Regions from separate parts of the Homo sapiens genome. Here region 1 is linked to region 2. The links are contacts of gene promoters, found by promoter capture Hi-C in human tissues and cell types (Jung and others, 2019). All regions are on one chromosome and are shown on one strand. Each heading gives the region's core, a stretch centred on a gene start or on the middle of the fragment in contact. The rest is flanking DNA. Distances are from core to core; before and after follow the strand shown.

The links. Contacts are between HindIII fragments. The study calls those that stand out against the background at their distance.
Region 1: a contact is called between a fragment that was not itself captured here and the fragment with the promoter of PUS7 in region 2, in 1 of the 25 tissues and cell types used here (dorsolateral prefrontal cortex).

What each region holds. Positions count from the first base shown.
Region 1 is chr7:104,900,647-104,905,015 of GRCh38, forward strand. The region is part of intron 2 of LHFPL3 (LHFPL tetraspan subfamily member 3); the gene reads left to right. The region is part of intron 3 of LHFPL3-AS2 (LHFPL3 antisense RNA 2); the gene reads right to left. Among named protein-coding and RNA genes, the nearest start is that of LHFPL3-AS2, 24 kb to the right of the region's middle. The HindIII fragment of the contact is 4,084 bases long and covers 1-3,998 here.
Region 2 is chr7:105,520,656-105,525,040 of GRCh38, forward strand. It overlaps PUS7 (pseudouridine synthase 7), which reads right to left and starts at 1,616. Exons shown (of 16, transcript NM_019042.5): 1 at 1,397-1,616. RefSeq lists enhancers at 1-128, 443-1,097, 2,381-2,881 and silencers at 640-785, 995-1,744. The HindIII fragment of the contact is 7,221 bases long and covers 1-1,965 here.

The DNA.
Region 1 (4,369 bases), core at 707-3,206, 620 kb before region 2:
GAACAATGAGCAGAAACCAACCACAGGAGACATTTCAACATCTGTAAACACGTGGAAAATTCAGCCAAGTAGCATTTAGATAGCCTGGACAATAGGGCCATTATAAATGCTGCACTCATGAGCAGTGATTCAAATGACAGCTTTGAAAAGGATTTGCAAAGAGCCCTTTGGAAATGTAACATGGGCAACTCCGAGCCCATGACATGTTACAAGGACAAATCTGACTGAACAAAGATCCAAAGCAGCATTGAATGACTTATTTATTCATTCCTGCTCTGTACAAACCTGGGAGAATGTGACATATTTTAAATTACCTCCCCTGATAGGCAACATCCATGGTGCATGGGAAATGTTAGCCAAGTTTTTAAAAGAGCAGAATGTTTCACAAGGTGGCAATTACACCACACTGATGCTTCCACCAAATTCTGCAAATTGTCCTCGTGTCTCACGGTCTTAAGACTGAAGGAGTGATGGCCACATCTGGAGAGGAAAATTCTGACTTTTATTTCCTTCCACTTACTCTCTTTACAAATCTGTTTGAAGAGCTAGTCCTTGCCAAGCCTTCAGGTGGAAAACTCTTCATGTGCATACTATCTAAGTAGTTGTAATAACATTCTAATTTTACTCCCCCAACAAAGTGTTTTCCTGATATTCTGTGGGGAGTGGTTGTGTTCTGATCACAGCTGGTTATTATTATTCAGCCTAAGAGTCTGCAGAACTTCTGCATGCCCTGGGGTTTCTGTTGCGTGGTGGTGTCATGCAGTAGGAAGAAAAAATATGCTCTGGTCGCAGTGTCTAAGTAACTCAAATCCAAGCAAACATTCCCAGCACGCCTTCTGATGAGCAGCATGCACTCATGGGCAAGGCTGGGATTAGGGTGAGGCAAGCTAGGTACCTAGGGGGCAAGCTTTTTTGTTTTTTTGTTTGTTTGCTTGTTTTTTGAGACAGTCTTGCTCTGTCATCCAGTCTGGAGTGCAGTGGTGCGTTCATGGCTCACTGCAGCCTCGACCTCCTGGTCTCAAACGATCCTCCCACCTAAACCTCCCACATAGCTGGGACCACTGGTGTGCACCATCACACCTGGCTAATTTTTTTTTATTTTCTGTAGACACAGCATCTCCTTATGTTGCCCAGGCTGGTCTTGAACTCCTGGGTCAAGCAATCCTGCCACCTTAGCCTCCCGAAGTGCTGGGATTACAAGCATGAGCCACCACGACTGGCCCTGCAAGTTTTAAAGAAGCACTCACCTCACACTTGCATGACCCTGCAAGTGAGCTCCTTAAATTTTATACCCTAGACACTCACTTGCCTCACCCTATTCCAGGCCTGGCTCACTGGCTTCACACTTTCATTTTCCCACTTACTTCTCAGCTCCCTGCCCACCACAGATACTGTGGGTCAGAAGTACAGTCCCAGAGTTGACAATACTCAACAAAGAAGAAACCTTTAATGGCCAGGTGCAGTGGCTCATGCCTGTAATCCCAATACTTCAGGAGACCAAGGTGGGAGGATCACTTGAGTCCGGGAGTTTGAAACCAGCCTGGGAAACATAATGAGACCCCATCTCTATAAAAAAAAATTTTAAATTAGCTGGGCATGGTAACGCGTGCCTGTGGTCCTAGTTATGTGGGAGGCTGAGGTGGGAGGATCATTTGAGCCTGGAGGTGGTAGAGGCCACAGTGAGCTATGATTGTGCCGCTGTAGTCAAGAAGCCTGAGTCACAGAGCAAGACCCTGTCTCAAAAAGAAGAGGAGGAAGAGGAGGAGGGAGAGGAGAAGGAGGAGGAGGAGGAGGGGGAGGAGGGAGAAGAAGAAGAGAGCTTTAGGAATGAAGGACTGACTAATCAATAGTGAGATTAGGCCGGGTGCGGTGGCTCACTCCTATAATCCCAGCACTTTGGGAGGCCGAGGTGGGTGGATCACCTGAGCTCAGGAGTTCGAGACCAGCCTGGCCAACATGGTGAAACCCCATCTGTACTAAAAATAAAAAATTAGCTGGGCATGGTGGCGCATACCTGTAATCACAGCTACTCGGGAAGCTTAGGCAGGAGAATCGCTTGAACCAGGGAGGCGGAGGTTACAGTGAGCCGAGATCACGCCACTGCACTCCAGCATGGGCAACAGAGTGAGATTCTGTCTCAAGAAAAACAAAAAGAGTGAAGTTACAGCGAGGGATCTAATGAGGGATTTGGCCATATGAAGGCCACGGGTGACCCAAGACCAGAGCAGATTCAAGAAGGGTTGTTGATGAATGACCTGTTAGGGTCAGGCCCCAGGCTGTGGGCCCAGATGATGAAGGAGAAAGAGAAAGTTTTGTGAAACTGGCCGCAAATGTTCCCGGAACCTTCCTGTAAGAGAGCTGAGGATCTTCCCAGGGAGACATCTGCCCTGCCGGAGGCTTCCTTCTCCCCTCTACCTCCCGCAGGTATGGGTGTCACTACCCTGGGGTCTGATCTAAAGTCCTTCCAACACTCACTGCTCCCTTCCCAGCCCACTGAGAACAGGTCTTACCCTGACTGGGATGCAGCCTTAGATACATGTACTTCCTTCTTGGCAATCTTACTTTTCCTTCATCCTGTGATGTCATAAAGTCAAACCAGGCAGCTTAGCACCAAGGAGAGAGAAACAGGGAGTCTCTGGTTCATGGATGCCAACAAATGATTCACACCAAAGCAGGCTTTTCTATTATGAAATTAGGAGTGTACTTACTTGAGAACCTCAAGAAAATGAGGACTACCCTCCTGACCCCGTTTTCCCCTGCCCCACACACACATAGATGGCCCTCTGTGGTCTCCCTATTCATCCTTCTAGTTATACTTTTTTTTTTTTTTTTTTTTGAGACAGCGTCTTGCTCTGTCACCCAGGCTGGAGTGCAGTGGTGTGATCTCAGCTCACTGCAACCTCTGCCTCCCGGGTTCAAGTGGTTCTCCTGCCTCAGCCTCCCAAGTAGCTTGAGACTACAGGTGCCTGCCACCATGCCTAGCTAATTTTTGTATTTTTAGTAGAGATGGGTTTTCGCCATATTGACCAGGCTGGTCTCGAACTCCTGACCTCAAGTGATCTGCCCACCTTGGCCTCCCAAAGTGCTGGGATTGCAGGCATGAGCCACAATGCCCAGCCAATTTTTTATGGCCACATAGTATTCCATGGTGTATATGTACCACATTTTCTTTATCCAGTCCACTACTAATGGGCCCCTAGGTGGATCCCATGTCTTTCCTATTGTTAATAGTGCTGCAACGAACATATGAGTGCATGTGTCTTTTTGGTAGAAGGATTTATTTTCCTTTGGGCATATAGCCACTAATGGGATTGCTGGGTTGAATGATAGTTCTGTTTTAAGTTGTTGGAGAAATTTCCAAACTGCTTTCCACAGTGGTTGATTGTTTTGCTTTTAATAATATCTAAAGAAAGTATTCCTTTCCGTAGGGCTTCTGCCAGCATGACTCAATCTCAGATAATCATTATAGACTAATCATCATTATGACATGATCATATTTCAATTATCCTCTGTGTAGTCTGGGTATATTAAAGTAACCGTGAGTTCTCTTGCTGAGAGAAGTTCATTAAGATCATAATGTGGATACGATTTTTTTAAGTGTGTTGAAAAACAAGGGGGAACATACCAAAAACAACAACAGAATGATCCAGAGGATTTTCTAGCACACATTCAGAAACCATATCTTATCTTGTGTTTTAAAGGGCTCTGTGACGCAAAACCTCGGCTGGGCACAGTGGCTCATGCCTATAATCCCAACACTTTGGGAGGCCGAGGCAGGTGGATCACTTGAGGTCAGGAGTTCAAGACCAGCCTGGCCAACATGGCAAAACCCTGTCTCTACTAAAAACACAAAAATCAGCCAGGTGTGGTGGCACATGACTGTAATCCCAGCTACTGGGGAGGCTGAGGCAGGAGAATCGCTTGAACCTGGGAGGCAGAGGTTGCAGTGAACCAAGATCATGCCACTGCACTCTGGCCTGGGTGACAGAGTGAGACTCCATCTCAAAAGTAAATAAAAATAAAAACAAATAAATAAAAAATAAAGTGCTCTGTGATGTAAAGCCTAACAGGCTGTTTCCTTTTGGCCCAAATATGGCACACCGTGACCAGCTAGCTGTATTTACCCAACTTCCCAATATATAAGATACCCTTAACCCCTGGTTCACAGTGACAAAAACCTATGAAAATCATTCAAAGAATAAGGTTAATCATACTGTTTGAGGTCTAGCTGTATTGATACAGGATCAGTCCCTAATCTATTGGAGAAAAGGAAAAGTAATTATCCCCTGAGAATTCATCCAAAAGAAACAAAATTTTTTGTGTGTGACAGGGAGGGTCTTACTCTGTCACCCAGGCTGGAGTGCAGTGG
Region 2 (4,385 bases), core at 366-2,865:
AGGTTGCAGTGAGCCAAGATCGTGCCATTGCACTCCAGCCTGGGTGATGGAGTGAGACTCCGTCTAAAAAAAATAAATCAAAAAACAAAGATATGTTCAAGGCCGAGTGTGGTTGCTCAAGCCTGTAATTCCAGCACTTTGGGAGGTCAAAGCAGGAGGATTGCTTAAGGTCAGGAGTTTGAGGCCAGGCTGGGCAACACAGCGAGACCCTGTGTGGTGGCACATGCCTATAGTCCCAGCTACTTGGGAGGCTGAGGTGAGAGGATTGCTTGAGCCCAGGAGTTCAAGGCTGCAGTGAGCGATGATCACGCAACTGCACTCCAGCCTGGGCAACAAGAGCAAAATTCTGTCTCAAAAAAATTAAAAAAATAAAAATAAAAAAACCAAAAACATGTTCACAAGGAGTTGTTAAGTACGTACTGTTGGCTACTTTCCTAATGTTTGAACCTAACAATTGCCTAACCAACCCCTTTTCAATAGTGTTGTACAGTCTGATTTTCGACAGATCCCTCAATAGTCGAGGCTCCCCCAGGCCAATGGGGCATAGTCATTTCATAGATGATTAGAGGCTTGGGGATGGGGGGGAGGGAACCTTAGTAACCCTTTATTTTTGGAATGGAAAAAAAAAGTAGTCTGACGGGACCAAATATTTTAAAAACTAAACTCTTTGCCAACCCTACTCGGCAGGCAACGAAGGTGTGCTTCTAAACACCTCTGCGCAGGGCTGACGAGGAGGACTCGAATTTCAGCTTGCACAGCAGCACCTCCATCCACTCGTTAAGCATTCACCCAGCTTGAGGGCTGGAGAAAGCACTCTGAGTCTGCAGCCCGTCCACTCCTACTCTGGGAAATGCATACAAAGCAAGCAGTCCCCAGAGCCCGCGTGGCGCCTAGTAGGCTCCCAGTGAGCGGCGACGCAGGACACAGGGGTGGAACACGTGGGCTGGACCCACAGAAGGCAGGCGCGGCGAAGCAGTGGCACCGTGAAGGGCTTCAGGGCCAGTGTTCCTCTGACGGAGGGACAAGAGTTTAGGGAGCGTCCGGGGCAAAGAAAGGGAGGAGTGGGAAGGGGGCCCCCGGGGGACAGCGCCGCGCGGGGAGGAGGGGAGCGCTCGGGCGCGGCGCCTCCGGACGACTGGCCGGGCAGAGCGGAGCGGGGAGCGGGGAGCGGAGAGCGGCGCCTGCACCGCCGAAGCGCAGGACCCACTGGGTTCCAACCGTGCTCCCGCTGGCACGATCCATAATGGAGGCGCCGCGGGCTCTGACCACTGCGGGGCCGCCTTCCCAGTCCGCCTTCCCAGTCCGCACTGCCTCTTGGGGCGGGGCCCTGGGGCTGGGGCTGGGGCCAGGGCCAGGCCGAGGAGCCCCGGCGGCCGCGGGGAGGCCGCGCACTTACCCGGAGCCTGGGAGCGCGGGCGCGGCGTGAGCTGGGCGGCGAGGTGGCCAGCGCTCTGGTTGGGACGCAAGAGAGCGGCGAAGGCCACTTGGATGAGCCAGCGGCTAGGGCGGCCAGGCAAAAGCAGCGCTTTCCGCGCGGAGGACCAGATGCGCTCCAGCCGACTCACCGGCGGCCGGGCTCGCACACGTGCGGCGCAGCGACGCGCCGCGGCCCGACTGGACCCGCCCCGGGGGCGGAGTCCGCTCCCTGCCGCCGGCCCCGCCCCCGGCCCACCCACTCGGAGCGGCCTGCAAGCCAGGGAGCGCCCCAACGCGGACTCCCAGCCTACGCGCGTTCACCCTGGACCTTCCTCGCGACCGCGCCTGAGTCGCACCAGCGGCAGAGAGCGATTTCACCAAGCATCTAAGAGTTCTTTAGATCTTTAGGAAGTCTAAGGCAGCGATTGCCTCCTTTGGTGTTATATTCTAAGTGTTTCCTTCACATAGTTGTGGCCCTTTCACGTTGCACCGACCACGCAGTTGACAATAATGGAAAGAGAATCACTTTAGGGACTAAATATTGTTCTACATTTGATCCTGGGAATGTAGTGGATCTAAAAGCACCATCTTCCTACTTCTTACCGCTCTGGCTTGATGGCTTGCCATAGGATCTGCTTCAAGAAACCGGATCATAGGTTTTTTTTGTTTTGGTTTGGTTTGGTTTTGACAGAGTCTCGCTCTGTCGCACAGGCTGGAGTGCGGTGGCGTGAACACAGTTCACTGCAGCCTCGACCTCCCAGGCTCAAGCAATCCTCCCACTTCAGTATCCCAAGTAGCTGGGACTACAGGTGCATCCCACCGCACCCAGGCTAATTTTTTTGGGGGTGGGGGGTAGAGACAAGATTTCACTATGTTGCCCAGGCTCTAATAGTTTTTTTGCTTTTTGTTTGTTTGTTTGTTTTTTGAGACGGAGTCTTGCTCTGTCGCCCAGGCTGGAGTGCAATGGCGCGATCGCTGCTCACCGCAACCTCCGCCACCCGGGTTCAAGCGATTCTCCTGCCTCAGCCTCCCGAGTAGCTGGGATTACTGGCGCACGCCACCATGCCCGGCTTATTTTTTGTATTTTTAGTAGAGTACGGGGTTTCACTATGTTGGCCAGGCTGGTCTCGAACTCTTGACTTCGTGATCCGCCCGCCTCCGCCTCTGTGTTGAGATTACAGGCGTGAGCCACCGCTCCCAGCCTCTAATAGTTTTTCCGTTTTGTTTTATTTTGTTTGAGAGAGAGTCTCACTCTGTTGCAGGGTTCAAGCGATTCTCCTGCATCAGCCTCCCGAGTAGCTGGGCCTACGAGTGCTTGACATCATGCCAGACTAATTTTTTTGACGGGGTTTTTGCCTGTTGGCCTTGAACTCCTGACCTCAAGTGATTTGCCTGCCTAGGCCTCCCAAAGTACTGGGATTATAGGCATGAGCCACCATGCCCTGCCCAATTTGTTTTTTTGTTTTGTTTTTTACACAATGAAATATACTATTACCGGCCGGGCGCAGTGGCTCACGCCTGTAATCCCAGCACTTTGGGAGGCCGAGGTGGGCGGATCATGAGGTCAGGAGTTTGAGACCAGCCTGGCCAACATGGTGAAACCCCGTCTCTACTAAAAATACAAAAAATTACCCAGACGTGGTGGCACGCGCCTGTAATCCCAGCTACTTGGGAGGCTGAGGCAGGAGAATCGCTTGAACTCAGGAGGCGGAGGTTGCAGTGAGCTGAGATCGCACCATTGCACTCTAGCTTGGGCAACAAGATGGAAACTCTGTCTCAAAAAAAAAAAAAGAAATATATTATTACCATACAATTCAGCAATTACACTCCTTGATATTTACCTAAAGGAGTTGAAAACTATGTTCACACAAAAACCTGCACAAGTATGTTTATAGCTGCATTATTCATAATTGCCAAAACTTAAGGACGGGCCGGGTATGGTAGCTCACGCCTGTAATTCCAGCACTTTGGGAGCCCGAGGTGGGCAGATCACGATGTCAGGAGTTCAAGACCAGCCTGGCCAAGATGGTGAAACCCCCATCTCTACTAAAAATACAAAAATTAGCCAGGCGTGATGGTGGGCGCCTGTAATCCCAGCTACTCAGGAGGCGGAGGCAGAAAATTGCTTGAACCCAGGAGGCAGAGGTTGTGGTGAGCCAAGATCATGCCACTGCACCCCAACCTGGGGGACAGAGTGAGACTCCGTCTCAAAAAAAAAAAGACCAAGATGTCCTTCAGTAGCTGAATAAACTGTGCTGTATCCAAACAATGGAATATTATTTGGTGCCAAAAAGAAATGATCTTAGCAAGCCATGAAAAGACATGGAGGAAACATAAATAAATATTTTTTATTTTATGTATTTATTTATTCTGAGATCTAAATAGATAAGGTGATCTGCCCACCTCGGCCTCCCGAAGTGCTGGGATTACAGGCGTAAGCCACCATGCCCAGCCTTAAACGCATATTACTAAGTGAAAGAAACCAATCTGGGCCAGGCATGGTGACTCAGGCCTGTAATCACAGCATTTTGTGAGGCTGAGGCAGGTGGATCACTTGAGGTCAGGAGTTCGAGACCAGCCTGGCCAACACCGTGAAACCCCATCTCTACCAAAAATACAAAAAATTAGCCAGGCATGGTGGCACACACCTGTAATCCCAGCTACGCGGGAGGCTGAGGCGGGAGAATTGCTTGAACCTGGGAGGTGGAGGTTGGGGTGCGTCGGGATCATGCTATTGCACTCCAGCCTGAGCGACAGAGTAAGACTGTCTAGAAAACAACAACAACAACAACAACAAAAAAAAAAAACAAAAAAAATCTGAAAAGGACACGAGCTATATGAATCCAACTAAATGACAAAATGACATTCTAAAAAAGGCAAAACTATATAAGACAGTAATAAAATTAGTGGTCGCCAGGAGTTAGGAGAAAGGGAAGGATGAATAGGTGGAGCACAGAGAATTTTTAGGG